7 separate regions of the Homo sapiens genome follow, and all the other regions are linked to region 1. Evidence: promoter capture Hi-C in 16 types of primary human blood cells and fetal thymus (Javierre and others, 2016). All regions are on one chromosome and are shown on one strand. Each heading gives the region's core, a stretch centred on a gene start or on the middle of the fragment in contact. The rest is flanking DNA. Distances are from core to core; before and after follow the strand shown. Region 1 holds the start of ZFC3H1 (zinc finger C3H1-type containing). Region 2 holds the start of RASSF3 (Ras association domain family member 3). Region 3 overlaps GNS (glucosamine (N-acetyl)-6-sulfatase). Region 4 has its middle 4.0 kb from the start of GNS. Region 5 overlaps LOC124902953 (a long non-coding RNA gene). Region 6 overlaps HMGA2 (high mobility group AT-hook 2). Region 7 holds the start of LLPH (LLP homolog, long-term synaptic facilitation factor).

Region 1 (4,203 bases), core at 969-3,468:
CAACACCACGCCTGGCTAACTTTTTTATTTTTAGTAGAGACAAGGTTTCACCATGTTGGCCAAGCTGGTCTGGAACTCCTGATCTCAAGTGATCCACCGCCTCGGCCTCTCAAAGTGTTGGGATTACAGGCGTGAGCCACCACGCCTGGCGCCTACATGATTTTCTCCGAAACAATCCTGAAATACTCCTAACCCAACTTTTGGTTGCAGAAGTAAGGTTTTTCAGGGAACTAGCATCAGAAGCTGCTGTTTCTCACCTAAATGTACATTCCTTGCCCCTTTTACATCATGACATTTGAGAAAGACCTATTCTGGACCTAAGTGTTCTATAAAAGTAATTCTGATTGTCTTCCAAATAACTGTCATTACTTTTAAGTTTCATATATAATAACGAAATTAAAAATCATCACACTATGTGAATTACAACCAGTAATGAAAGTCTTTAAACAATTTTTGCAATGATCACAGATTAAGTCAAGATAGTGTTTTACAAACCCATTATAAAACAGGAAACCTTCGGATGATTGATTCCTCTGTATAAATGCTGAGTAAACTCAGTAATGTTTAAAACTGAGAATAAGGTTAGAAGTAGGAAAAATCTGGAATGTTACTATTTCCTTTCTCAACTTACCCGTAATCTCCACCCTCGCATACACATTCCTCCACTCTAACGTATTAAAATAAAAATGCTGATAAGTTTATCTTTCTCTCTCTGGCCCTCATTTAGTCAGCACGAAGTTACACAATGTGCAAAAGTGAACACAGATAGAAACGTAAAGGAGGTAAAGTGTTCCAAAAAGATCAAATGAATCAAAAAGCTCTGAAACAGACTTGGTAAAGACACCAGAGTTGTTTTTTTTTTACCCCTCCCCCCCCCACTTTAAAAGGCAGCAACCGGAATAAATCAAGATAAAAACAGAATCACAAAAATAGTGCAGGACTGTGCAGATTAAAACTTTACAATTTTCAACGTCAAACTGCAATATGATAAAGCAACAATATTACTTAAACTGTTTATGAATATTTTTTCTCTAACAATCCAAGTCAACTTCATATAAAACACAAAGTTTCTGTACCAGCAAAAATACAAATGCTAATGAAACTTGGGCTTCTAAGGTATTATTACAAATCAGACTTAACTGTCTTAGATTTCATAAGCTTAACCCAATCCACAGCACGTTAATATACCCAATGAAGCAGTCTTAAGAATAACGCTATAGTGTGACACATGGGGAATTACCAAAGAACAACTTAAAGTATACTGACACAGGGAGAAATAAGCGGTTCTGATGATTCAAAGTTACACTCGTCTCACAGACCTAGTAATGACGCTAAAGGGAACTTTAGTGACACACCCAGCGCCGACCGCCACGTTAAGGATACAGCTCTTCCGAGGTGGAGAGGGCTCTCGCCAGCTCTGACTGCTGCTGAACCCGGATCCTGCTCCTCCTCCCAGAGGAGGTCTGCACCCCGGCTTGCCTCCTCGCTCACCCACTCCTCGCCCCCGACTCCAGCGACTCCCACCCCGGTAAGGCCTGCCTCGAAAGCGGAAACGGTCCAAGGCGAGGTGGCTCCGCTCCCAGAAAGACGGCCGGGGACTGCTTTCGGACAGTGAGCTCGAAGGCATCCGTACAGAAGGCGGATGAGACCGGAACGGTTCTTTGGGTCGGTAGCTGCTGGGTCCCCTGAGGTGGCCCCGCTCAGACGCGTGCCGCGAGCGTGAGAAATTCCTCAGCTGCTGCTGAGAAGAGGACGATGACGAGGAAGAGCCACCGCCTCCGCCAGATCCACCGCCCCGGGCCGAGTGAGGAGGCCTTCGCCGCGGATAGGGTAACAGCCCGCCGCCGCTGCTGCTGCTGCTGCTCCGACTCCGTATCTGGCTGTTATTATCGTCGTCACTGATTTCCCCATCTTCAAGCTCCCCTTCTTCCTTCGGCGAGAGGCCACTGGAGGCCGGGGCCGGAGTATCTGCGGTCGCCATCCGGGGAGCAGCGCCTTCCACACAACCTTAGCCCTCCGTCCGGGGATCCGCCCGACAATTGCCTCGTTTCCCTTCTTTCCTAACGGACTGGGTCGGTGCGGTCTTACCCTACTCGGACACCAAGCGGCCTCTGCTCCCCAACTTCCCCGCACCCCAGCACCCCAGCTCTCTCTCGCCGGACCGTCGCAACCCAGTTCCCTTTCCTAGCGCCCCCTTGCTCCTCAGCGATCGGGGTTCTTCCGCCTCGCGAGAAAGGGACTCTGGTAGCGGCTGTACCCGAAACGTCACTTCCTGCGACACGCAGGAAACAAAGGCTCCCAGTTCACGCGATAATAAGACCAACTCGATACTCACTAGGATTTGTAGTCTTTCGTCTTTCTTCGGGTTTACTCTTCCGGTCCTAGGGTCACACCCACCGCAGGGTCTGGCTTGGTACAGTTGGGTGCATGCAGAAGTAGGTGGAGCTGCTGTTGCAGCCTTGAGAGAGTTTTATTGTAAAACTCTTGTAATTTATAGTAATCGGAGGGGAAAACACCTCTTCCTTTTAATTGCTCTGAGGACCGCTGCCAAAGAAACGCAGTAGATCCGCTCCCTCTTGGGGGCGGGGAGAAAGAACGGGTTGTGTCCGCCATGTTGGTGAAGTCAAGCGAAGGCGACTAGAGCTCCAGGAGGGCCAGTTCTGTGGGCTCTAGTCGGCCATATTAATAAAGAGAAAGGGAAGGCTGACCGTCCTTCGCCTCCGCCCCCACATACACACCCCTTCTTCCCACTCCGCTCTCACGACTAAGCTCTCACGATTAAGGCACGCCTGCCTCGATTGTCCAGCCTCTGCCAGAAGAAAGCTTAGCAGCCAGCGCCTCAGTAGAGACCTAAGGGCGCTGAATGAGTGGGAAAGGGAAATGCCGACCAATTGCGCTGCGGCGGGCTGTGCCACTACCTACAACAAGCACATTAACATCAGCTTCCACAGGTAACCTGGGCAGGGAGTGGGGGTGACGGAAACTGGAGTTCCTATTGTGGCTATCGCTTGTGTGGAAGGAACAGGAGGATTCTGCTAATTCTAATAACTTTCCCAGCTGGTAGCAGGGAAGCATCGTATGTCCTTTGTGTTTCTCAAATCTGCCCAATTGTTCTCTGCTTTCGGGGAAGCTTTACTCATTTTCTAAAAGAAATCCAAGTACTGTTTGGTCATTACCCCTTAGTAAAAAAAAGTAACAGGAGGATATCGTAATTTTCTACTGTTTTATTCCTCTGTTAGACCGGGCCTTGACATGAATGACGCCGTAAGGGAGAAAGAGATCTTCCCAATCAGCAATCACCGTAAAAGCCTGCTGTGTTCCCGTTAAAATTAGGAAATTCTCACTAGATGAATTGACATGGGAGGCATTTAGATTTCTAATAGTCACATAGTAATTCTGCGGAGGAATTGAGTCATCTTTGATAGCCATGGAATTAAGCGATGTTAATTAAAGTGCAAAAGATAACCTTTCTGTTCTTACTAGAATAGAGTAATAAAAAGAACCTAGGTTTTCTTTTGTTTGCTGGAAGAAAAATCAAAATTCTTTAGTTCTGTCAAACCAGAACTCTTGAAAGCACTTTGAACAATGCCTGGAAAATAACAGGTACTCTGTAAATGTTTACCTTCTCTGCAAGTGCCTGCCACGTGCCCGAAGAAAAGACACATTAAAAAGTTAAGTGACACCAGTCCTGATTTTATATATTTTATATACCTAACAACGTATATGTTAGTATGTAGAAATTATATCCTTGACCTTTTTCCCTACCTATTACGAACTGTACTTTTATTAAAAGCTGCCACTTAAAAAAAATCTTGTGATGTTTCTGTTTTTAAACTAGTTCATGCATATGTAGTGCTTTGTTCATTCATCCATCAAATATGTACGGAGTTCCTAATTACCTGACATTGTGCTAAGGATCCAGAAAGTTCTAACCCTCCTGGAATTTAGAATTTAATGGTGGAGAAAGACATAAATAATTAAGTGCCACAGAAGAAACATTCAGAGACCTAACTTAGTCTTGGAAAGTCAAAGAACACTTTTTCAAAGGATGTGACATTTCAAATGAGACCAAAGGATGACAGATTGGGTCCTGTGTGCTACTTAAGTATTTTCTGTTTTATCCTAAGAGTACTTGAGAAACCATGGAGGGTTTAAAAAAGAATGGCACGATTAGATTTGCATATTGAAAAGTCCTCTGGCTGC
Region 2 (4,203 bases), core at 1,130-3,629, 7.1 Mb before region 1:
CACTATGTTGGTCAGGCTGGATAGGAACTCCTGAGTTCAAGTGATCCTCCACCTCAGCTTCCCCCTGTGCCCCACTCAATCATGCCTTTTTATTATAACTGATTCTGATGGTATGCTGACAGATATACAAATTAATCCAGTCCTTTGGAGCTTAAAAATAATACAATGAAAAAAATCATTTTTATGGTGTGGTGCATCATAAAGTTTATTTATTTATTTATTGAGACGAAGTTTTGCTCTTGTCGCCCAGACTGGAGTGCAATGGCGCCACCTCGGGTCACTGCAACCTAGGCCACTCCGGGTTCAAGCGATTCTCCTGCCTCAGCCTCCCGAGTAGCTGGCGCACGCTACCACGCCCAACTAATTTTTGTAGTTTTAGTAGAGGCGGGGTTTCACCACGTTGGCCAGGCTGGTTTCCAACTCCTGACCTCAAGTGATCCACCCGCCTCTGCCTCCTCAGGCGTGAGCCATCGCGCCCGGCCAATAAAGCATTTTAATGCATTTTTCCTCAAAGTATTCATAAACTTCAACTTGTTCTAGGTAAAATTATTTTCCCCTTTCTACCCACAATAAAATGAGTAATTTAAGCCCTTAACCTACACATTATTCTTACCTTGGAATATTTAATAAGAGCTGCGCTAATATTATATCTGAATAATGAAATAAGAGAAACCAAATAAGAAAAATTTGTCATAAAGCCCTATTCTCCTACATTAGATTATGTGCATGGCACACACACGGATCAGCTTAAGCTGGGTGAAACTATATGGAGTTAGAATTCCTGGCTTCCTATCATTCAGTAGCTGTGTGGCCGAGAAGAAGACTTTAATGTTGTAGGACCTTTAAAATGGGCTGTAACTCAAAGGCCCTCCTTCTGGAGTTGTTGTGAATCACGTGGGGTAATATATACTAGTTTACAAGATGGATGTGTAAGCCCGAAGGTGGAGCAGGTTTGCAAGCCTTCTTTCAGCCTAGGGACAGTAGGATGACTCATGAGTCAATTCTTCTCTCCTTCCCGTCATTTCGGGTCCAACTCTTCCTCCTGTAGTCCACAAAAGAGCACGGCTGACCGATACCAAGCAGAGAACCCAGTAGGGTATGTGACCACGTTCAGATCAACAGAACGCAAAGCAGAACGGTCCGAGTACTGCCTCCTACAGCCACTTTCCTTTCTTTAAGCCTCAGCTGCTGCTCTAGGTGTAAAACCGGCATAAAATAGCACTACGTACCTTGCAGAGTTGCTCGGAGGATTGAAGGAGATAATGTAAGAGAGTTTGGCTAGTTTGGCTATGATGGATGGACATTTTCTCTTTTCTAACGTCTCTCTTCCCCTCCTAATGAAACCTCTTCTGAAGCTCGCTAACTATAGCAGGGCTTGCAGCTTCAAAAAAACCTTTCAGTCAAGATCTTGAAATTAGTATTATTTAAATCAGTGCAGTAACACCAAGGTGTAAAAGACTGTTACCCACTGGTGGCTTTAAGAGGATTAGCTGACTGAAGAGTTTTAGAAAACATGGAAACTTTTTTTGTACGTGGATGGATGGAATTCCCTGATCTCCTTATCCCCACCACTTAAACCATGCCTTGTGGGTGACCGTGGAAGGCTGATTGTGGCGGGGACATTTACAAAGCACATTTAATTGATAAGCACTCGATTGTTCTGTAACTATAGAACTAGTTCACCTTTCAGTTGCACTGAGTGCGCCTAAGATAACGATCTTATTTGGAAGTGAGCCCTCGCTAGAAAGAAGGGGAAAAGGGTAAGACCGAAGCTCAAATGAATGACCAGAAAGGATGTTTTCATTCGAATAAACTCAACCCAGTTTTTGACCTCCCCACCCATCTCTGCCAACTTGAAATCCTCCTGGAGGGGCGAGCTGCTGGGGTTCAGGACTGGGCGTTGCGGCTGCAGGAAGCCGTGGGACCTGGGGGGTCCCTCGGCCGGGCAACCCCCACCCACCCCTACAGGACCCTGGTGCGGGGGCGAGCAGGGAGTGGACGCAGAGAAAGTTCCCCGCTCTGCTCCCGCCCTCTCCGAAACTCGAGCCAGCGAGGCTGGGGGCGGGCGGACGGCTCGCAGAGGAATTTGCAGTTTCCGGGAGGTTGAGGAAGCGACCCGAGCACAGCCCCAGCAGACGCAGCCCTAGCGCCCGGCTTTCCGGGTTCCGCGACGCTGTCGGGAGAAACCCGCGCGCCTGGAAGGGGCGGGCCGGGCTCCCCCCACCTGCGGGCGGGCGGGGAGGGTCGCGGCCGCGCGGGGTGGGGCTCGGCCGGTCGCCCGTCCGGGGCGGGGCCCAGGGAGGCGGGGTCGCGGGCGCACCGGGGCCGAGCCGCGCCTGGAGCCTGGCGGGGAGGCGGCAGGAGGGGCCGGGAGAGCCTGATTGAGCGGCGGCCGCAGCTGCATAAGGACTGCCCGGGGCTGCGCGCCGGGAACCTCGCGGGGCTGGCGGGCGCCGCACCCCCTCCCTGGCCGCCTGCGCCCCGGGGAGGCCGCCCGCGCGCGACGGGACCGGCAGCATGAGCAGCGGCTACAGCAGCCTGGAGGAGGACGCCGAGGACTTCTTCTTCACCGCCAGGACCTCCTTCTTCAGGAGAGCGCCCCAGGGCAAGCCCCGCTCCGGCCAACAAGTGAGTGGCGCGCGGCGGGCGCTGCAGCCCGCGCCCCAGAGTTCCGGGGAACCCGCCAGCCCGCGCCCCCTGCCTCCACGTGTCTCTGCGGGGCGCTCGGGGGATGCTCGCCGGGAAGGAGGAGCGGGCCGAGAAGTGGCTTCTGCCTTTTCGGGTCCCGGGAACGTGCCTGGAGCTTGTGCGTGTAGGCGAGGGAAGGCGGAGGAAGGGCGGGGAGGCTGAGGGCCGGCTTCTGCCTTCCGCGCCAGATGGCCTCTGCAGCTCCGCCTCGGGCTGCCGCCTGCGGGGAGCAGCCCCGGAGCCAGCAGGCGTCCCCGGGCCACTCCCCCAGGTTTCCCCTTCGCGTCCCCGCTGGGTCGACGGTCGGGTTCGCGCGCCTGTCCTTCCTGTTAGTCAGCTTACTCATCTGTGGCCCCCAGAGTGGCTTGGGTCAACGTGTAATAGCTAGGGGTGGCCGGGTGACCTGACCTCCCCTCTTCCTGGCCCGGGCGACCTGGTGGAGTGGGGGTCCAAGGGCACCGTGGGCCTCGCCACCATAGGCTCTCACTAAATCTCCGTTGCGGGACTCAGGGTTGTGCGTTTTCTGTAAAGCTAGGTTTTTTGGTGCCCAGATGTTTTGCAAACAAGCTCCTATGCTAAATACTAGCCAGCGACAGCTAACCTTTTCGCCGGTTTCTTCCTTTTTTGGAGGCAGCATGCCGTGGGAAGCACGAGTTGGGAAAAGATGGGAAGGGAACTTGTGCCAGTTTCGCCAGCTGTAGCCGTGTTTTTTGGGAGGCCTTCCCGAAACGGGGCACGTCGGCTGGACTGAGGAGCCCGGTGCTAGAGCCCGCGGCCTCCTGGCACTAGGAGCCGCACCAGGGGAGCCGGGCCAACCCGGCCACGCTCACATCAGATTACAGAAGATTGTAATGGCACAAATTTGTTGCTTTTAGAAAACAGGCGTTCGCCAAACATTTCTATTAATACCGGACTGAGACCTAGAGACTAGAAGCAAGAAGAATCGTTCAGGGGCCGGATGATAACTTCTTTTGGTGGATGTGGGAGGGTGCAATCTGTCAGGGTGGTCTTGCCAGACCTCTTAAGTTTAGCCACTTTCTGAAGTAAAATTCTTTCTAAAATTCGGAAGTTCTAGTCTTTTCAGGCTCTTAAGTCCCAAACCAGGAGGAGGAGAGGAGACGGTGAAGGGTAAGCTGAAGTCAAGTGCCCTTATTCAGTAACCGCAGTTAATCTCAAGTCCCGGTGCCATAGTTGTCCGTCTTGTATTGTTTCTAAGGCTTAAGGCCCCACTATTTACGAGTCACTTTGAGTGGGATCTCTTACTTTCAGCAGAGTGTGTTCTGAGAGCATGAGATTGCTGTGAAGTTTGGAAGTTGGAAACGCCCTCTCCTCCCCCATGCCCACCCTCCCTGGGTTGTAGAAAAATTGCATTTGCTTATGCTTTTTCCATTTTTGCTTTCTCTTTCTTGGCCTCTCTCTTCCCCTTCTCCGTTTTGCATTTTCTCCTTTCATTTATGTTGCTTTCACCACTTGACATGAAAAGGAACTCATGGTAGTTTGAAGTTTATTCCAGAG
Region 3 (4,203 bases), core at 1,191-3,690, 6.9 Mb before region 1:
TGTATGACCTGCAAGCCTATTAATATTTACTATCTGCCCCTTTACAGAAAAAGTTTGCTTATCCCTGGTCTACACTAAACACTTCCTAAGAGAAAGTAATGGATTTTTAAAAATTGACTTAAGAGAATTTCTTGAAAATTCCAAATGGCAAAGGCAGATATTTTGATCTTGTCTAAGCTTTTGGGTCATTTGTCACATATGACAATGGGCTCTCTCAACCAAGTCACCTTTTCTTTAAAGCAGGAGAAAAAATTCTACCACATGGTTCAAGTTTGCAAGACTTTTGCCAAGTCCTAAAAATGGGCAGTCTAATTAGTACTGGGGTCCAAATGCCACCTCATTCATTTGAGTGTAAAGGAATCTCTCTGCTTCTGGTGCCCCATCGAAGCCTCTCTCCCACTGACTTGCTTCCCTCTGTTTTTGTTTCAGAGACAACAATGTGGTGTGGTCTCCTCTTCATGAGCTGATTTGCAGGGTCTTTAAAACCACTCAGATTGTTATGTAGCAGCAGCTCTTACCTTTTCCTAAATGCATTATCTAAAAACTGTATTGAAGAATTAGTCATTGGAGTCTTGGCTTGCCTAATTAACCAGTGCTTGTTCTAAAATTTAGAAGAAAAAAAATGTTAACACCAAGTCACCACAGTCAAACAAACTACTGGATTACTACAGTAGATAATAAATAGAACCGTTTCACTCATACTTCAGCAAGAAGGAACTAACTGGAACTTGTTTAAGCAATTTCAGAACTTCTCTCCCTTCCTGTGTTCCTAAAATAGAAATTTCTGTAGATTAACTCAATCTCTCATTCTTCAGCTTCCCAGCACCTCCCAAACCATAAAAGGTCTTGGCTTCTCTGTTGGCAGTATTAAGAGATTTTAGAGGATGTCACTGGGAAACTACTAGCTAAAGCGAGATTACATTTACAACTCTGATCTTATGCCTTTGGTCTACTACAATTAGAAAATGGGCAAATAGGGCGTAGTGGCGGGCGCCTGTAGTCCCAGCTACTTGGGAGGCTGAGGCAGGAGAATGGCGTGAACCCGGGAGGCGGAGCTTGCAGTGAGCCGAGATCCCGCCACTGCACTCCAGCCTGGGCGACAGAGCGAGACTCCGTCTCAAAAAAAAAAAAAAAAAAGAAAATGGGCAAATAACTTTACCTTCCTCTAAGTTGCTTTTTTTGAGACAGAGGCGGAGGTTGCATTGAGCCGAGATCGCACTACTACACTCCAGCCCAAGCCCAAGCTGGAGTACAGTGGCACGATCTCGGCTCACTGCAACCTGTGCCTCCCGGGTTCATGCGATTTTCATGCCTCAGCCACCTGAGTAGCTGGGATTACAGGCGTGCACCAACATGCCTGTCTAATTTTTGTATTTTCAGTAGAGATGGGGTTTCATCATGTTCGCCAGGCTGGTCTTGAACTCCTGGCCTCAGGTGATCCTCTTGCCTTAGCCTCCCAAAGTGCTGGGATTACAAGCATAAGCCACCATACCTGGTCTACCTTCCTCTAAGTTTTGCCTAGCCAAGATATCGGTCACCCTAGATCCTAAGGAAAAATCTTATTACAGCAATTTCCTAAAACTTCAAGTCTAAATCTGGAGGGCCCTCCCATTTAAACAAAGACATCCCTATATACTATTCTCTCTTCTCTATTCGTAAAACCCTAAGCCACCAGATCTCAAACTATGCTCCTCAAAGTGTTATTAAGTTTGAGAAATGCTGTATAGCATATTCTCCTGCTAGAAATTCACATTCGATCATGAATAACTCTGAGAAGTCCTGTAGCAGAGTGACTTATTTAACTCAAACTTTCCAAACTTACTTGACCATGGGAACTTTTTATTAACTTCTTTTGGAACACAGATTGAGAATCGTCCTATTTTACTATTTTTTAATTTATTTTATTTTATTTTATCTTATCTTGTCTCATCTCATCTTATTTTATTTTATTTTGATGGAATCTTGCACTGTTTCCCAGGCTGGAGTGCAGTGGTGCGATCTCGGCTCACGGCAAGCTCCGCCTCCCGGGTTCACGCCATTCTCCTGCCTCAGCCTCCCGAGTAGCTGGGAGTACAGGTGTCCACCACCACGCCCGGCTAATTTTTTGTACTTTTAGTAGAGATGGGGTTTCACTGTGTTAGCCAGGATGGTCTCAATCTCCTGACCTCGTGATTCGCCCGCCTTGGCCTCCCAAAGTGCTGGGATTACAGGCATGAGCCACTGCGCCCGGCCAGTACTCTAATTTAAAACACAGTTCACTCAGCTTTGAAACTGTATTTAACAAGCACATGCCTATAATGTGCCAGACAATATGCTAATTGTTTCTATGTACTTGAATTCATACAGTAGTTCCATGAGGGATCAAGAACTCCCACTTCACATGAAAAAATGAAGTTAAGCATCGTGCTCATAGTCTGTACTGAGCTAGAAAGTGGTAGTACTGAGTTTGACTTTATGACTCATTCTTTCTATAACCTTACAAGCAATTACAATTTCTGGATAACAAACCTGAGGCAATGCAGGCCTTCTGTCTTTGAACCAGGGAACTGTCTATACACCAAGCCAAGGGAAGTATAAGTAATTGGCACGTGAGGCAAATACATGGGTTGTTGTGGTTCTTAATCATGTCACCTCGTTCATTTTTCCATTCAACTTCCCTTTCCAACCATATTGCTCTGTGCCACCCCTTCTTCCCATGCCTCAAAGGCTAGTGAGGGCCACCAGGAGGCTGGTGCAGTCCCGGCTATGCCAGGAGGGAGGAGAGTCAGCACAGAGGTTACCAGGAGAGCCTGAGTGATATTCCTGTAAATTGGGAAAGATGGCATTCTTTACCATTCCCTGTCAACTCTCCAGCTGCTCACTGGATGTGTAGCAGGAACTTTATCTGTACTTGCAATGCAAGTTTATACTATTGGTTGTACTAGGGACAGATGCAATTACCTTTAAAATATTGTGAAGAAAAACCCACTACATGGCTCAAAGGCTTCCTGACAAGTATACCATATAGTTAATGATACTTAGTATGGCTGAATACAAGTGGTGGGGGAAGCTACCGTTCCATGGATGTTGAAGTTCTTGTTTCTTGGTGCAAAGACATTCTGGAAAGCCTTCTGGTACTGAGGTGCAGCTGTCCAAGGCGAATGAGGCGCTGGAGTGGCGATCATCATGAAGAAGGGCTCAAAGTTGGACTTGTAGTCCAGAAAGTCCAAGGAGACATTAGCCTGACACATAAAAAGATTTGTCATCTCCTACCTTACCCAACAGATGAGTATTTAATAGATAAATGTCTTCTGGTGAGCAGACAGTACAGGGTCTTACTAGCTTTTAAGCAATCTTAGCACATGATCTTATGTCATAGCCATTTGCAAGCATATTGTTGGAACAAATATATTTGTTTTTTAGGCAATACTTTAAAAACTGAGAAGCATACCAACATAAGAAGGCAATTAAGATCTTGATGACTTTTTATGACCTAGAAATCATGTCTCCCACAAAGAAGGAAACAGTAACTTGGATATTTTACTATTAACTTACACTAATGGAGATTATGGTATCTACATGTGATGCCTTAAAGAATGTAAAAAGACAGTCAACTTAAAACAGTGGGAAAGGTAGATTAAGTTACCTTAACCTTATGAAAATATGTAGAAAGTAGATGTCATAAATTATGCACTGAAGTAGCTAAGTGAATAATATTAGATTCAAATACATTCCACTAGGGTTTTAATACATGGACTTAAGTTTTGCCTTTGCTTATCAGGAGATACTTTATGAAAATGAAAGCATGCTACATACATGTTGTTTTTCATTGTTCTGAAGTAGTTTCATGTATTCCCAACACTAACTCAACAGATACTGACTGTATCTATCTCCTATAATCCCTCCATCCACCTTTCACTCCAGTCCTGTCAGCTTCCTTGTGGTTTCTCAAATATGCCAGGTATACTCCTGCCTCAGGGCCCTCCTACTTACTATTCCCTGACTCTGTAGCACTCTTCCCCCTGATCTGCACAGCTCATTCTCACCTACTTCAGGTTTCTGCTTAAATGTTATCTAAGTAACCTCATACCCTAACTTATTTCTCGAACTGATCACCAGCTAATGATGCAACACGTAAGACTGTGTGTGTTTGTGTGTGTAAATAAAATTAACTTCCACAGAATCAGGGACTTTGCTTCATTTACTGTTGAACACTGGCTACAC
Region 4 (4,203 bases), core at 437-2,936, 6.9 Mb before region 1:
GGCGATTGAACCAGAGCAACTCCATCTTGAAAAGGGGCTGAGTAAAATAAGCCTGAGGCCTGCTATGCTGCATTCCCAGATGGTTATGCATTCTAAGTCACAGGATGAGATAGGAGGTCATAAAGATACAAGATACAAGATGCATGTCATAAAGACCTTACTGATGAAACAGGTAGCAGTAAAGAAGCCGACTAAAACCCACCAAAACCAAGATGGTGATGAAAGTGACCTCTGGTCGTCCTCACTGCTAAATTCCCACCCAGCGCCATGACAGTTTACAAACGCCATGGGAATGTCAGGAAGGTACCCTCTCTGGTCTAAAAAGGGGAGGCATGAATAATCCATCCCTTGTTTAGCATATCATCAAGAAATAACCATAAAAATGGGCAACGAGTAGCCCTCGGGCTGCTCTGCCTATGGAGTAGCCATTCTTTTATTCCTCTACTTTCTTAATAAACTTTCTTTCACTTTACTCTATGGTCTTGTCCTGAATTCTTCCTTGCTCGAGATCCAAGAACCCTTTCTTGATGTCTGGATCAGGACCCCTTTCCGGTAACACTGCTACACTAGTGCTGAAGAGACATTGTCCCTCGTTCATGGAATTTGCAGTCTAATGGCAGAGAGATGGACAATCTAATCTTGTATCTTGTATATGATTACAAATAGACATGCTATGAAGGAAAAGTAAAGGGTGCAATGAGCATTTAAGGTGGTGGGAGGCTGATTTAGTCTAAGGTGCCCTGAGGAAGTGATCTTTGAGTGAAATCTGAAGTTTGAGTAGGAGATAATTTGTTAATGGAGTATTGGGGTGGTGGAATGTCTCCTAAGCACAGAGTACAGCATATGCAAAGGTTCTGAGCTGGTGCATTGCAATAACTAAAAGAAGCCAGTGTGGTTAGAGCAGAGGGAGAGAGGTGGTGAGGACCCAGATCCTATTTTAAGGACTTGGGTTTTTATAGTAAGGCTAATTGGAAATTACTGAAAGAATGTAAGATAAATATAATCATACATGAACTTTTAGAAGATCCTTTAGACTGTGGCATGAAGAACAGATTGGAAGAGGACAAGCATGGGTGAGGGTAGACCAATTAGGTAGAGAGAAAAGTGGATAACAGGGACAGATTCAAATTTTGTGGGGCCTGAAGTTTATGTGCATTTGGCGAGTGGAGGCTCCTTAAGAAAAAGAATAACAATTTTAGATACAAAAGTAGGTACACAACTGAATATGTATTTAGACTAAAACAAAATATAACGTTATAAATTTTTAAAAGTTGAAAAATATTACAAATAATGCAAAAATTTAACGTAACATATTTTTATTAAGTAACTGCCAGGCATACTTCTTCATACTTTTTTCCCCTTACATTATATGGCTATGTGCTCTTTAATCATCTCTTCATATGATGTTAGTTTATAATATTTTCTAAAGAAAATAGAAAGATAATTTAGTTTTTTCTCTAGTGTGTTTGATCAGTATTTGCCTTTTATTGGTGATAATTCAGAAAAATTATTTTTCACCTCAGTTCATTATTGGTTTTATATATATGTTTAGTATTTTTGTCAAATTTCAGAAAACTCTATCAAATATCCTCTTAACATAGGCATTTCGTGACATTCTGCATTTTATTTTGTATTATTTTATTTTTTGAGATGGAGTCTTGATCTGTCTGCGCTCTTGGCTCACTGCAACCTCCACGTCCCAGGTTCAAGCAATTCTCCTGCCTCAGCCTCCTGAGTAGCTGGGATTACAGGCATGCGTCACTATGCCCGGCTAATTTTTGTATTTTTAGTAGAGATGGGGTTTCGCCATGTTGGCCAGGCTGGTCTCGAACTCCTGACTTCAGGTGATCTACCCGCCTCAGCCTCCCAAAGTGCTGGGATTATAGGCGTGAGTTTTATGTTATCTTCCTCAATGCTAGTGTGAGATCAAATCGAAAGAAATTTGAATATTTTTCAATGAGTTTATATAATTCACAAGTTGTCAATTTAATAGCCTATTTATTACTTTCATTTGCAGTTTATCTCTTCCTCTTTCCAGCTTTATTGAGATATAATTGACAACAAAATTATGTGTATTTAAGGTGTACAACATGATGTTTTCATATACGTATAGAGTGTGAAATGATTATTCTCTTCCTCTTAATGAATTACTGTTTTTCTTATGATTTAAACTTTTTTTGGTTACTCTTTACTTCTTAATGTCAGGATAATTTCTCTTTACTTTCTCATTCATCTTTATCACTTTGGTTTTGTATCCTATTAATTTTTTTTTTTTTTTTTGAGACAGAGTCTTGCTCTGTCACCAGGCTAGAGTGCAGTGGCATGATCTCGGCTCACTACAACCTCCACCTCTCAGGTTCAAGCGATTCTCCTGCCTCAGCCTCCCAAGTAGCTGGGATTACAGGTGTACACCACCACATCCAGCTAATTTTTGTATTTTTAGTAGAGACAGTGTTTCACCATATTGGTCTGGTCTCGAACTCCTGACCTCAGGCTGGTCTTGAACTCCTGACCTCAGGTGATCCACCCACCTTGGCCTCCCAAGGTGCTGGGATTACAGGCGTGAGCCACCATGCCCAGCCTAGCCAAGCTGTTTTTTAAAGAGCATGCAGCCCTTTTTCCTAATCATTATAATAGCTGTGTTAACAGATGACTGATTATAAATGCTGTTTAACCACAGGTTAAAATAACAATCTTGTTTTACTTTGTTGAATAATGTCTCAGATGTTTTCAGTTGGCTAAAAATATTTAAAAATTGCTCATAGGTTTTCCTGTTAGAAAGTAGTGCCCAATAATTGCCAACTCATCAGTGGTTGTCATATCCAGAATAGAATACATAATAGTATTTGGTGTTTGGTTATGTGTTTGACTTACCACTTTTTAAACATTTTTTTCATTATTTCAATTTTTTCCATAAATTGTTTTAGTAAAATAAGTTGTGTTTTCATTTTGACATGTTTTTCCAAGAGCTTAAGCAAAAATGCATCCAATTCAGCTATTAGTTGAAAAATTCCTGTGGAATTTTCATTATAGGAACAATAGTACTTTTCATCATGACCTCTGAAGTGTAACTTTCACTTAACGTTTAATAACCTCAAAACTTCCATCTCTGGCCACGATGGAGTAACAGTGCCAGACTAATTCTCTTGCTAAAAACAACTAGAAAACAGGGCAATATAGATGCCTTTATACAAGTGACAATAGTGAAGGACTGTGATCCACATGTAAAGAGAAACAAACAATTGCTCCAACTTTTTGCCTGGTGGAGGGACATTCTGAACCAGAGAGCAGGAAATAGGATCTCATGCTTGACAAAGTTGACTTGCTAACTTTGGGTGGACAGAGATCAAAGTTGAGGGAGATTGAGGCAGCTGGAAGTTTGCAGGGAAGAATTCCAAAGAGAAGGGTGCTGTATAGATTTAAAAGCTCCATAAGTTTGTACAGATGTCTTTCTGAAACTTTGCTGAACACTGAGATGTGCATTCACAGGGTGAAACACCACCAGAAGGCAAGGCAAAGAATGACCAAGGTAATGTAAAACAAATAATTCTCAGAGGGGTTGGGATGTTTGAGATCCAGCCAGCCATAGGGGAAAGTCCTCCTTGATCATCAGGAGCACTCCTTAGGAACCTGGAAAGGTCGTGCCCTAATAGTGGAGCTAAACTATCATGAGTAAAAAGTACTGTGCACCCACAGAAACAAAGCTTGGGTACAGCCCTCAAAAGATCAAACTAATCTGCAAGGAAAGTAACTTGCTTTCCAGAATAAGGCTCAACACTCTTTCAGGGAAGACTACGAAACCTAGATATTCAACAATATGAAATTCACAATGTCCTGCGTTGAATAAGAAAATTACTACACAGGGCCGGGCATCGTGGCTCACGCCTGTAATCCCAGCACTTTGGGAGGCCGAGGCGGATCATGAGGTCAGGAGATCAAGACCATCCTGGCTAACACAGTGAAACCCCATCTCTACTAAAAAATACAAAAAATTAGCTGGGCATGGTGGCGGGTGCCTGTAGTCCCAGCTACTCAGGAGGATTAGGCAGGAGAATGGCGTGAACCCGGGAGGTGGAGGTTGAAGTGAGCCGAGATTGCGCCACTACACTCCAGTAGCCTGGGCGACAGAGCAAGACTGTCTCCAAAAAAAAAAAAAAAAAAAAAAAAAAAAAATTACTATATAGGCTCCCAAACAGGAAAATG
Region 5 (4,203 bases), core at 1,090-3,589, 6.5 Mb before region 1:
ATAAAAAGTACAATAATAAGTACTATAAGACAATGCTCTCAGAAAGTTTTGGATTTGGAAGGGATCTAAATGGTATAGTAGCTTTACTCATTTTAGACATGAAGAAACTGAAAGCCAAAAGATTAAATGACTCATTTCATGCAGTACATGGGACAGCAGGGTGGGTTAGAAAGAACAGTGGACTTAGGGGTCAGAGAACCTAGTGTGATTTTGAATTTCAGTCCTTGCTAGCTTTCACAAAGGACAAATGATAAAGCCTTCTATCCTGGTTAAAGATCAAATGAGACAATAAAAGAGTTTTATAGACTATGAGGCAAAATAAAAATGTAAAATATTACTACAATTGTAGAACTGGGAATAGAACCCAAACCTCCAAATTTTCAGACCCTTGTCCATCAGGTATTAAAGTGAAATGTTTTTCCATGACTTTTAGTTAACAATTTAGGCAATTCACTCACTTGCATAGTTAGAGTAGAATATAATTATCAATCATCGCATACATATGTTGTTTACTTGAATCCTATGACAATTCCCCACCTGTCTGAGTTATATATAGAAAAATAAAACAGATGCTCTCACTACAAAACTTTCTTGGCTAATTCTTACCGTAACATAGGATAAAAATTTTATCCAACATTTCTCAATAACGTGTTGTTTTTTCAGTTGTATTCTGGTTTCTTCCTTATAAGCAGTGTTAGTGTTGAGCAATTAAAAAGAAAAATAAACATCAGGAACTTTGTAGATCAAAACTAGTGAACACATCCTAGAGGTATTTAAGAGAAGTGATAGCATCGGCCGGGCAAGGTGGCTCACGCCTGTAATCCCAGAGGCCGGGGCGGGCGGATCACAAGGTCAGGAGATTGAGACCATCCTGGCTAACACAGTGAAACCCCGTCTCTAGTAAGAATACAAAAAAATTAGCCGGGCGTGGTGGCAGGTGCCTGTAATCCCAGCTACTCAGGAGGCTGAGGCAGGAGAATGGCGTGAACCCAGGAGGCAGAGTTGCAGTGAGCCGACATCATGCCACTGCACTCCAGCCTGGGCAACAGAGCGAAGTGATAACATCAATATAATATTGTGTTACTGCTTTGATCTGCTAAAATGGTAAGTGATATAATCAATTTTATATTTTTGAGTTTTCTTTCCAGTTGTTGCACGTAGCAACAAAGAAAAGAAACAGGTTAATTGTAAAAGCCTTTGTCCTCTTCTTCACCCCATTACAGACACCTTCCTCTTTAGGGTGGGTGAGAAAAGAGGGAACTAAGTTTCTTTTTACCACCATATAACTGTATGACTCAACAAAGGTATTCAAGATTGGTATGGTATAGTAGAAAGAACAAGGAATTTGGACTCAGAGGTCCTGGGTTTCAGTTTCTCATTTATCTATCGAGACTTGAGTCAAGTAACTTTGCTAGCTATCAGTTTTTTCATCTGTAGAAGATGAAGACTAAGAAAACCTACCCGTTGGGTTGTCAGATGAATTATATAAAATTATATAAATTAAATGATTTAAGGCAGCTAAAAAGATGCATATTAGGAAGATAAAGTAAACATTAAAAACATCTTAAAGATTTTTTGTTTTTGTTTTCTTTCTTTCTTTTTTTCAGAGATAGCTCTTGCTCTCTCACCCAGGATGGAGTGTAGTGGTGAAATCACAGCTCCCTGCAACCTTGAACTCCTGGGCTCAAGCGATCCTCCTGCTTCAGCCTCCCAAGTAGTTGGGACTCTGGTGCACACCACCATGCCTGTCTAATTTTTATTTTATTTAACTTTTTGTAGACATGGGGTCTTGCTACACTGTCCAGGCTGGTCTTGAACTCCTGAGCTTAAGTGATTCGCCTCCCAAAGTGCTGGGATAACAGGCATCAGCCACCATGCCTGACCAAAATAAAATAAAAATATTTTAAAATGAGGTACACAAAAATAAAGTTAAGAAATTTAGATGGACTCAGCAATAAGGTTAATGTATAAAATATAGGCTATGTAGCCCTATACACTTGCTCTGACTGGACTGCAAATTTGAGTATAAACTTCTTAGCTGTCATCTCAAAGGGAGAAACATGGCAAGTCACCAAACAGTGTCCATCTGTTAAAAGGAAAACTTAAGACAAAATAAATTTGACAGAGTTTATTTAAAGAAAATAATGATTAATGAATTGGGAAGCATCAAAACCAAAAAGTTTATGGGCTCAGCCTTAGCAGCCAAAGCAGGGAGGTGTTTGTTTGTTTGTTTTGCCACAACATGGAAACAAAGTAAAGAAATTACCTGATTGGCTACAGCTATGCATTGGCCTTATTTGGGTATGGTCTGATGGGAAGTCTCTAGTTATATATCCAATCAGCTGGTTGGCTGTTTGTGATTGGCAGAAGCTGGTGGGTTTTGTTTTTTTTTAAGTTAATTACAAGAACTGCTTCCACTTCAGTTTCAGTTTGCTTATATAAGAGCTCTAGGTGCAGAGACAACCTCAGGCTAATGGCCTCCTTCTTGTTTTTTTTTTTTTGAGACTCAGTCTTGCTCTGTCACCCAGGCTGGAGTGCAGTGGTGCGACCTCGGCTCATGCAACCTGGGTTCAAGCGATTCTCCTGCCTCAGTCCTCCGAGTAGCTGGGATTACAGGCACGGGCCACCACACCCAGCTAATTTTTGAAGTTTTAGTAGAGATGTGTTTCACCATGTTGGCCAGGCTGGTCTTGAACTTCTAACCCCAAGTGATCCCTCCTCGGCCTCCCAAAGTGCTTGGATTACAGGTGTGAGGCACCGCATGGGCCTAATGGCTTCCTTATTTGCTTGAACACATCCATAAAGTTAAAAACAAATTAACTTTTGTGATTCCTCAAAAAGTTCAACATAGAATTACCATATAATCTGCAATTCCACTTTGAAGTACATACCTAAAAAAAACGAAAACAGCTATTCAAACAGATACTTATACACCAATGTTCATAGTAGCATTATTCACAATTACCAAAGGTGGAAACAACCAAAATGTTCATCAGTGGATGAATGGATAAATAAAAAGTGGCACATTCATGCAATGAAATATATTATTCAGCCATAAAATAGCACCACTGCACTCCAGCCTGGGTGACAGAGCAAGACTTTGTCTCAAAAATAAAATAATATAAAACAATTAATGTTATGTTATATGAATGTCATTTCAGTAAAAATTAAAACAACAACAAATGAGTTGCTCTGGAAAAACACAACTATTTCTAATAATGAGACCAGAAAGGACATTCTTTAATGAAATGAACTCTCAGCAATATATTTATTTGAACAAAATGTTGCGTTCATATCATTCTTCAATATAAACTGATGTCAAGGCTAAAAGGGTGACATGGTGAAAGGTATTCTATTGGGAACAGGGTGGGTAGGGAAAGAGAGTAGGAGGAACAGCGTGTTAGTAATGTGGCCCAAGCTACATTGGTCTCTCATAAGGAGGCTTAAGGCAGAAATGAAATTAAAAGCACCTCAAAGAAGAGTTGGACCAGAATCCATCAAAATTGTTTCCCTCAGATTTTTGGAAGTTATGGAGCAGGACTGAGTTTGAGATTGCACTCCCTGTCAAGTATCTGGGTACAGTCAAGAATAGAGCCTCATACTTTAAGTGTTAGCCAGTCTGGAAGCAGGAGCAAGATCCACTAGCAAATGAGGAGAATGTTGGAAGTGAGCAGTGACAGTGTTGAGGCAGTGAAGGTTCTCCTGAAAAAGCGTTGGGTCTTCTCAAACACCAAACAAAGGGTAATTATAAACCCATATAGTTCCATGAAATAAATCATGCTCTAGTATCTTCAGAGAGGAAAGGTTTCTTGTAGATCAAACAAGGTCATGTATATGAAAGTTCTTTGAAAAGTATAAAGTAGTATATCAATCATAGTTGTCGTTATTATTAATATCTGATAATACCTAACTTGTAAACAAAATATTTGAACAACATTTTCACATACAGTGTTCGTTCATCATTCTCAACAAATATTGATTGAATTGTCTGCCAGGTAGGGTAGGCAATATCATCCACATTTTAAAAAAAAATTGTTTTGTTTTTTTTTTTGAGACCGAGCCTTGGTCCATCACGCAGGCTGGAGTGCAGTGGCATGATCTTGGCTCACTGCAAACTCTGCCTCCCGGGTTCAAGCGATTCTCCTGCCTCAGCCTCCTGAGTAGCTGGGATTACAGGCATGCACCACCACACCTGGCTAATTT
Region 6 (4,203 bases), core at 735-3,234, 5.8 Mb before region 1:
ATTTCCAAGCCGCGGCGGGCAGAGTTGGAGCGGGATATGTCTATTGAGAACATTTAAACTCCACTTTCTCGGGCTTTAAAACTTGCTCTCTGCTTAGTCTTAAATCGCTTCCTTCATGGCAAACACGCCGATTAGAAAATAATCCTAGAGTCCCAAAGTTGTCCGAGAGCAAGGTGGGGAAACTGAACAATGTTTGCTTGCCAGTGCATTTTAGAAAAATTGAGAGTTGTACCTTTTTGAAATCATCAAAGGAAACAAGCCGATCTAGAGGCCCCTGAGTTTTCCCGCTCTGCCCAAGCGACACTTTACACCGCATTTGAATCCTGTTTTACACCTCCCAGGAAGTCTCTGCCCTCCCCCACTTGTTTCCCACCCGCCACCCAGTTCTAACTCACTAATTGCCCCCCCTCCAAAAAAAAAAAAAAAATCCAAAAGAAATTACAATGGGGTCTGGAGGTGATTGGATACTTTACCTTTGAGTTAAGGCAGAGTTCACAAAGAAAGAAAAATTTGTCTCCGATGTGTTTGCTCTCGATGTGCCCACTGGTGCTAGTGGTCCCACAGAAGCTTGCAGGGAACCTTCCCGAATTCTCTAAATGGGATGCGAATTTTCATTGAGGACGTTCATGGGTTTTAAGTTAATTAGTCTCACTTAATCACCGAATCTGAATGAAATGTGAATAGATGATTCACTGGATAAATATTTGGGATCTGGAATATTAATCATCGCATTCTCTTAACCACTTGAGTATTTACTACTTGGCATAGGAGCCATTTAAAGTTTTGCTAAACCAAGTGATTGCTTCCATTTCTCATTCCCAGACACTCCATTCCTCCTCGCTTTTACCTCCTTTTAGTTTTCTCCACTCCACCCCCATAAGAGTTTTCTCAAAAGAAAGTTTTGAAGAAAATATGTTTATTTTTATCAAAAGATATTTAAATTTAGACTGGAGGCCATGCCTGCATCTCCAAAAGGAAGTGGAGAATTGAAGCAATTAACTAGATGATTCAAGCAAAACCTCCCACCATAGATTTACTATAATTATTTGGAAATTTTAGGGGGAATGGAGTTATTTTGAACTGAAGAACTTGAATAATTGCTCCAGTATTTCACTCAAAATGTGTCAGTTGAATCATAATCCACCTAGAAGGCAGGTATACAAAGATGATTAAAGGCCACCTTTTCAATATGGAAGATTGTTGAAATATCTGTGATGGTAGCTTCGTATTTCTGTTGTTTGAAATGCTAGTATAATGCAGAGTGGTGTTCGTTTAAAATGCCTATTATTCCTATGAGTTGCCAAATGCATAGCCCTGTAAACTTTACACCTTAAAAGTATATGACTTTCTTTCTAGAACATGCCTCTTCAGTCTTTGTTACCATTTTAGGTTTGAAGTAGAATCTAGTTTTCATATACAAAATAGAGTTTCCTCTTTGAACCCTTGCATTAAAAGTATAGTTATTTCCCCTTTCTGTAAACTCTGTACCATCATCATCCATTTATGCTTGAACTGAACGTGTTCCAACAGCTCTTTTGAGCAGCACATGCAGAAAATATAGCTAAAGAGTCAGGGTCAATTTCTTTCAGACATTCTTGCCACAACAGCATTTTTTTTTCCCTCACAATTAGGAACCAACCGGTGAGCCCTCTCCTAAGAGACCCAGGGGAAGACCCAAAGGCAGCAAAAACAAGAGTCCCTCTAAAGCAGCTCAAAAGGTGAGATTTCTCAAGTCAAGCTCTCCTAACTTCATCAATGACTGACTACAGGAGCCTGCCTGTAACTTTCCCATTCTAACTCCGCAGCCAGGAATTTGTCCCAACTGGGTAACACAAGACTCATTTCTTACATTTAACATTAGTTAGATGCGAGTTAACCTTTTTTGTAAGCAGATGCTCAGCATAAAAAGTTTATGAAGATACTTAACAGTGTTGTTTTTAAACAAACAGCCACCAAATAATTTGAACCTTAAAACGGGTAGAAGTGAGGAAGGAAGGGGTTGCGGGGGGGGCGGGATGAAAATGACACAATTAATATTTGCACCAGTTGTAAATAGTTAAAAACAAATCAAAACTATAGATTTTGCCTGGTGGTAAAGTTTTTGCAATTTCCTCTGAAAAATGATAAAGATTGATTTACTTTGTGCTTATTACATGGCTACTGCAAACCAAATCCCCCTATTAAAGTACTTTGCCAAATAGACGATAATTAGAAGTAAATCTAGTTGTGGGATAGTGGAAAAATTCCATGAATTTTGCAGCTTTAATTGTGATAATAAAGTATACTGTTTGTTTTACAATAAACCTGCAGTATAGTATATCATAATCTCAAAATGCCTTTTCATCAAGTGACATAGAAATGTCTGAATTGGACAATGAGACTTTTTAAAACAAGTATTTGGCTCATTTAATATCTCTTTTTGGGCAGAATGGAACCCAGTTAAGTGTAATATTCAGTGTTTATCTTAATAAGTTTAAACTTGCAGTTTAAGATAACTTCAGGTTGGCTGTGTTTAAGCTAGCAAAGAGGAACTATGTCAGGGTTAATGCATGTATAGAGAAGTACCAGTCACTTTTTTGACTTTATAAATAAATTGGAAAAAAAAGTTTCTGCGTTGTATTTGTAGGTTTGTGTAGTAATTGAGAACAAAGTTTCAAAAATCAGAACTAAATTTGGATATACCTTTTCACCGGTTTTGGGTACTCCATGTACAGTATTTGTTAGAAAGGACTATATGCTCATCGTTTGGGGATTAATGTTTTGTGTGATTTTCTTTGTGACTGTGGGTACTAACTGTAATGTATGTAAACTGCCATAGCAACTAATGGTACATATAAAGTTATTTAGGAAGTTACTCTGAGTTCTTGTCTGTTTTAACAGTTTTGAACAGAGTTGAGGAGCATATTTTTAATATATTTAAATTTAATTGCTTCTTAGAGTTTAGATTTAATTGTTTCTTATTTAATCAATAAACTTTAAAATAGCTCTAAGTAACCTTGTTATTTAAAAATGGCAATATATAATCTGGTATTTTTAATATGAATACTTTACATTTGTTTCATTTTATCTCATTTATAAATTAACTAAAATGGACTGATTTTACCAAGGAGTTTTTCTATGTTGTGTAAGTGTGGAGTTTACCTAATTTACTTTTATTCTAAGGAGATGCACAAATGAATATCTTGTTAGATAGCTGACACGCATTTAAGCTGTGGTATAATTCCTCTGAAAAACACATCATGATAATATCTCCTAGGAAGAAATCTTTAAATTTCACCATAAATAAGTAATTTGAAATTTAATACTAAAAAGGAAAATGAATTGTCTCCCATATTTTACTATATTTCATGTTTTTTGGATGAATAGATAGAAACGCTCCCATCGCCTCCGCTTCATTTTAAAAAGCTTACCACTGACTAACAAAATTTGTATTGAGAAAAGGGAAGCTGAAGCTAGTGCCTAGTTTACCACCTAAAGCAAAATTTTTAAAGTTGATCTATTCCTAAGTAAGGGTTGATTTATTTTTAGTGACTCTAGTGACAGGCATTTGTAAATGACCCCCCTACGCCGCTCATCTTTCTGAAAATTCTTCATGTGTATGCATACATTATTCCAATTTCCAAAACAGAAGTAGGCTTTCTTTTTTCTAAAGATTCCTTCTCCAGAATCTTTCATTCTTTCAGACACAATTATTTCCTACAATGGTGTTATAAAAATCCCTCTTGTAATAAAAATGAATAAATACATTTGCCCATAACATGACTTATTTTTCTTCAGTTTTATAAATTACGCTTCATCTGGAGAAGAGAATACCTTGCAAAATAATGAATGACATTGATGAATCGTTCATGGCATGTGTAAACTTAAGGTATTTTCACTTTCAAATCAGAATTTGTTGAGTATGTTACTATTCTATATAAATATGATTTTCAAACATTTGTTTATTAAGCATATATTGTGTTCTAACAAAACATATATGTTCGTCAGGATTTTGCAATGCAAATCTTTTTAGAAAAAGTTATATTGTTCATAACATGTAAGATAAACATACCCTGTGAGACTGACCAGAATAGATATGAGAAGTCTTCTATGAGTAACAAAGTGAGTGTTTTCCTGTAAACTGAGACCCATCACAATGCAAAATACATTGCAAAGACTGGTAAGTATATGAGAAGAAAGAAGCCTAAAATTAGAGGAGCTGCA
Region 7 (4,203 bases), core at 1,186-3,685, 5.5 Mb before region 1:
GCATTAAATGTGCAAAAAGCAGCATTATATATATATCCTCCAACTTCATGATTAAGACACAAAGGTTCCTAGAATCTGTCAAAATGAAATAGTGAAACCCTGTGATTTTCAGGATAATAGTATAAGGGCATAGGACTCATAGAATGGGAATTAGATCTTACAAAGAGTAAAATGAAGACCTATGCTGCCTAGGCCCTGAGTGAACTGTGTACCCTTCCAACCAGAGTATGCCTAGATTTGTCTACTCCTGTAGAACTGTTTATTCCTGAGACATGGAGGCTATTGTATAAGCACCAAAGACCCACTCTAAATAATCCAAAACATATGTATATACATGAACAGGCTTGACAGAATTTTTTTTGTTTTTAAATGAAGCGCAGAGGGGCTGGGCACTGTGGTTCATGCCTGTAACCCAGTGCTTTGGAAGGCTGAGGTGGGAAGAATCCGCTTCAGCTCAGGAATTCAAGGCTGCAGGAAGCTATAATCACACCACTGCACTCTAGCCTAGGTGACAGAGGAAGGAGACCCTGCCTCAAAAAAAAAAAAAAAAAAAGAGAAAGAAAAAGGAGAAGCACACTCACCTTTTTCATCTTTTACCTCACATTGCATTTTCTCTTGGCAATGTTTGGGTTTGGGTACCACCACAGTTGCTATCTCTTGAACATCTTTCATTAAAACATCACCGTCTAGTTTGAGAATACTTTTAAGCCTGCTGGCCTCCTTTGGGGCATTCTTTTTTCTCTTTTCAGCACGCATCTTTCTTTTCCACTTACTCCGTAAGCTTTTAGCCATGTTTTACCTGAAGTTAACAAAAACACACATTCAAAAGCAAATCTTTAATATAAAAAAGAAAACAGGCAAATCCTTAGAAAACCAGGCCAACAGGTATCTCTACAAAACAAGTGAAAAGTAAAACTCTTCAATCTGTTCACTTTTTAGGACTTAACATGCAACTTATATGAAGATCAACATGGTACATACACAGTCACTAAATAACAAGATATCAAATCAAACTTGTGGTCATAAGCAAACTACAAATCAAACCAATTCTGAAAGCACCTTGCATGTCTTTTTTCTTTTTTTTTTTTTGAGACAGAGTCTTGTTCTGTGTCCCAGGCTGGAGTGCAGTGGCGCGATCTCAGCTCACTGCAACCTCCACCTCTCAGGTTCACGCCATTCTCCTGCCTCAGCCTCCCGAGCAGCTGGGACTACAGGCGCCCGCCACCACGCCTGGCTAATTTTTTGTATTTTTAGTAGAGACGGGTTTTCACCGTGTTAGCCAGGATAGTCTCGATCTCCTGACATTGTGATCCGCCCGCCTCGGCCTCCCAAAGTGCTGGGATTACAGGCTTGAGCCACCGCGCCCGGCTGAATTTCTTTACAAAATACAGAAATTTAATTTCCCCAGAATGCAACAGCGTCATCACCTTACATTTATGCAACAGCTTACAAATTACAAATGATTTTTATAAACACTTCACCTCATCTTCATTATCCATCCTCTCAAGCCAACTTAACGACTGTAAACTTATCTATTCCTACTCTTGTTTTCTTTCCACTCAGTTCCGCCCTAAATCCTCCACAAGGTGCTCAGTGTGATCTTTTAAAAAAGCATTCACTGCCTTTCTTCGAGTTCTTTAAAGACCTCCTCCCTCATATATATTCAAGATCTACAAGGTCATTTGTGATCTGTCCCCTGCCTCCTTCAACTCTATTTCATTTCATTCTCCATCCCCATCCCCGCAGGCACCAACTACGTCTGTAAAGAGTCCAAACTATCTCTACGTCAGTGCCTTCATATTTGCTGTCCCTATGCCTGGCAACTGCTCTTCTCAAGGCTTGCTCCTTCATTCGCTACCTCAGAAAGGACTCCTCTGACCTCCGTAAGCTCCCTTCCCTGCTTATTAAGTGTTACAACCTGAAACCATTGTTTTCTGTCACGCCCCCCGACCCTCTCCCCAGACTGTAGACTCCACGAAGGTAGAGGGAAAGGTCTTGTTCACTGCTGAATCGCACACTTTTTGCATACTTGTTGAACGAACCACTAACATTTTTTGAACGCCGGCAATCACAGTCATTCCGCTCCCTTGTCTACATAACTCAACCCTTGCGAGGGGCTAGGAAAGCGGGCGGCAAACAACCTTGAGGGCCGAAGTTAACTTCAGCGGGAGTGAACGACAGGGGTGGGCTCCACTTTATCCAGTGCACTCGGAAGCCGGAGGGCCCCCACCAAAAAGAGCAAGGGGAACCCTCGCCCTCAACAAGGCCTGCATCTCCGGACTGGAGCTCAAGTATAGCCCAGCGAGTGTCAAGAAACGAAATTCTCCAAGGGTGGCGGAATCAAGCCCCAAGTCCCATGTGTCACTGGACCGGTGAGGAACCGAACTCACCTGAGAAACGAACACCCACACCTCACGCTCACGCCGACCGGAAGTCTTTGCACTTCCGTCTTCCGGGCGGAGGCCACCCGGGGCGGACGCATTGCACGCCGGGAGACAAAATGTCTCAAGAAGCCTTGAGAGGCGGGATTTTGGAACCCGGGCGCTGACGAGCTTCCGCCATTGGTGTGATCGCGGACCTAGAAACTTGGTCCGTCCCATACAGGTGTAGAAGTCGGATTTGGAGAATGCTGACGGGTGTCCGGTCAAGGTTAGGCCCCAGGTAGGTCCGCTTTCCGGACGTGGGCAGGGTAGCCCCGAGACTAACCTATGGAGTGAACCTGGCCAGGGGACCCTACTTGTCAGATAGGGAGCTCCGAGCCGACCTTTAGATCTGACCTCAGCGTTTACATGATACTCATGTATTTCCTTAGATCAAGTCAGCCTAGATCAGGTGTTCTTCCAGAGGCCGTATTGAGATCATTTTTATTTGCAGCCTGTGCATTTTCTCATCTCGGGTGATGGCCTCACAGATGTACACATATGTAAAACCGTATCAAACTGCACACTTTAAATATGTGCAACTTATTGCATGTCAGTTATACTCAAAGCGGTTACCAAAAACAGAAAACAAGCTTTTCCTACCCCAGAGAAGAATTTAAAGGGTAAAATGATCAAAGGATTTCAGTTCTATCAATGTTTACCTGTCTGATCACTTACGTATCAGACACAATGCTAAGCCTAGGACGATTGTCTTAGCTCACGAATAACACTTACTGTACAACTATTTCTACTGGCATAGGCTTTGGAACCATATAGGTCTGTGTTGTACTCTTGCTTCCAACACTTGTGAACGATATGGGTGAGTAATTAATGTCATAAGGGCCTGAATTTCCTTGTCCCTAAAGTGAACATAATACAACCTAATTGATGCTGTAAGAGTTCAACAAATGGTACCCTTTTTACATTATAGTTTCAAAAGTATAGCTACACAGTACTATTTGTAAGCAATGTTTCTAGAGATTTACGACATATACCCAAAAAACATGTCTTTAATGATGGCCTGGTAAACTCCTGCTGGTTGCCAGAAAAAGGGGTTCTGAGGCAATCTATGGGTACCTTTTTTCTTTAAATTTGTGTCCTTTATGAAACCATGCATAGTATGGAAATTACTGAATTCAGAATATAGCAAGGTTAAAGAGGCTGAAAAAAACCTAGAACATTTGATATAAAAAAAGGAAGCATGCCTAAGAAACCTGGTTTATTTAAATGAGATTTCGTTCTTATAAAGCAAGTGAATTTCTGTTTTACAAGTTAACCATATACTGTACCTCATCTTTCAAATGAGAAGTTAGCTACCTCACCCAAAAATATAAGTGCACATTGCATTTTAGAGAAAACTTATATTCTGATAGTCCATATTTACTGTATCTTGTTTAACATACCAGGACAAGACTTTTGAATAGGCACTTGGCACCAGAAAAAATAATTTACCTATTATGAAAATGTCATGTTGTTAAAATACCATGCCATGATTTAGCATTACAAGTGCTTTAAACAGCTGAGTAAAACACCCTTTTACTCCTTTTTACTTATGTCCCCTCACCAGTTATATAAAAGCAGTTCTAGAAAAGTGGCCTTAGTATATTTAAAAGTCTAATTCATTCCTTCATTCATGCCTTTGAATATGCACTCTATTATAGGCACTATGCTGAATTTGCAAAGATGAAGGAAACTAAACTACTGTTTTTGGGAAACTTTATCTCCTAATGGACAAACAAGGCTTAAGGGTCCAACTAAACATTGCAGTGGCTCATCACAGAGC

What was found. The method cuts DNA at HindIII sites, captures the fragments that hold promoters and counts their contacts. A CHiCAGO score of 5 or more calls a contact.
Region 2: the fragment with the promoter of RASSF3 here is called in contact with the fragment with the promoter of ZFC3H1 in region 1 in 4 of 17 cell types (naive CD8 T cells, total B cells, activated CD4 T cells and 1 more); the score reaches 9.3 in naive CD8 T cells.
Region 3: a contact is called between a fragment that was not itself captured here and the fragment with the promoter of ZFC3H1 in region 1, in 1 of 17 cell types (M0 macrophages). The highest score is 6.8, in M0 macrophages.
Region 4: a fragment that was not itself captured here is called in contact with the fragment with the promoter of ZFC3H1 in region 1 in 3 of 17 cell types (naive CD4 T cells, total CD8 T cells and naive B cells); the score reaches 7.8 in naive CD4 T cells.
Region 5: a contact is called between a fragment that was not itself captured here and the fragment with the promoter of ZFC3H1 in region 1, in 5 of 17 cell types (naive CD8 T cells, total CD8 T cells, fetal thymus and 2 more). The highest score is 11.7, in naive CD8 T cells.
Region 6: a contact is called between a fragment that was not itself captured here and the fragment with the promoter of ZFC3H1 in region 1, in 1 of 17 cell types (fetal thymus). The highest score is 5.0, in fetal thymus.
Region 7: a contact is called between the fragment with the promoter of LLPH here and the fragment with the promoter of ZFC3H1 in region 1, in 9 of 17 cell types (non-activated CD4 T cells, naive CD8 T cells, total CD4 T cells and 6 more). The highest score is 36.4, in non-activated CD4 T cells.

What each region holds. Positions count from the first base shown.
Region 1 is chr12:71,661,630-71,665,832 of GRCh38, forward strand. It overlaps ZFC3H1 (zinc finger C3H1-type containing), which reads right to left and starts at 2,219. Exons shown (of 35, transcript NM_144982.5): 1 at 1,384-2,219. The coding sequence starts at 1,981. THAP2 (THAP domain containing 2) reads left to right here and starts at 2,672. Exons shown (of 3, transcript NM_031435.4): 1 at 2,672-2,951. The coding sequence starts at 2,881. RefSeq lists enhancers at 1,842-1,961, 2,314-2,872, 2,322-2,681. The HindIII fragment of the contact is 1,665 bases long and covers 1,157-2,821 here.
Region 2 is chr12:64,608,116-64,612,318 of GRCh38, forward strand. RASSF3 (Ras association domain family member 3) reads left to right here and starts at 2,380. Exons shown (of 5, transcript NM_178169.4): 1 at 2,380-2,628. The coding sequence starts at 2,518. RASSF3-DT (RASSF3 divergent transcript) reads right to left here and starts at 1,351. Exons shown (of 2, transcript NR_187549.1): 1 at 1,230-1,351. RefSeq lists enhancers at 920-969, 1,190-1,249 and silencers at 1,880-1,949, 2,110-2,629, 2,840-2,909. The HindIII fragment of the contact is 11,544 bases long and covers 1-4,203 here.
Region 3 is chr12:64,740,088-64,744,290 of GRCh38, forward strand. GNS (glucosamine (N-acetyl)-6-sulfatase) reads right to left here. Exons shown (of 14, transcript NM_002076.4): 6 at 3,054-3,221; 7 at 519-601. Among named protein-coding and RNA genes, the nearest start is that of GNS, 17 kb to the right of the region's middle. The HindIII fragment of the contact is 4,530 bases long and covers 176-4,203 here.
Region 4 is chr12:64,761,348-64,765,550 of GRCh38, forward strand. It overlaps a transcript of TBC1D30 not described here. Among named protein-coding and RNA genes, the nearest start is that of GNS, 4.0 kb to the left of the region's middle. The HindIII fragment of the contact is 4,032 bases long and covers 1-3,702 here.
Region 5 is chr12:65,162,656-65,166,858 of GRCh38, forward strand. LOC124902953 (a long non-coding RNA gene) reads right to left here. Exons shown (of 2, transcript XR_007063349.1): 2 at 2,114-2,891. Among named protein-coding and RNA genes, the nearest start is that of LEMD3, 4.8 kb to the right of the region's middle. The HindIII fragment of the contact is 5,889 bases long and covers 1-4,203 here.
Region 6 is chr12:65,826,370-65,830,572 of GRCh38, forward strand. It overlaps HMGA2 (high mobility group AT-hook 2), which reads left to right. Exons shown (of 5, transcript NM_003483.6): 2 at 1,632-1,718. It also overlaps the pseudogene RPSAP52. Among named protein-coding and RNA genes, the nearest start is that of HMGA2, 4.0 kb to the left of the region's middle. The HindIII fragment of the contact is 2,838 bases long and covers 566-3,403 here.
Region 7 is chr12:66,128,315-66,132,517 of GRCh38, forward strand. LLPH (LLP homolog, long-term synaptic facilitation factor) reads right to left here and starts at 2,436. Exons shown (of 3, transcript NM_032338.4): 1 at 2,391-2,436; 2 at 582-799. The coding sequence starts at 792. It overlaps LLPH-DT (LLPH divergent transcript), which reads left to right and starts at 2,437. Exons shown (of 2, transcript NR_125724.1): 1 at 2,437-2,661. RefSeq lists enhancers at 2,160-2,309, 2,350-2,459. The HindIII fragment of the contact is 2,232 bases long and covers 780-3,011 here.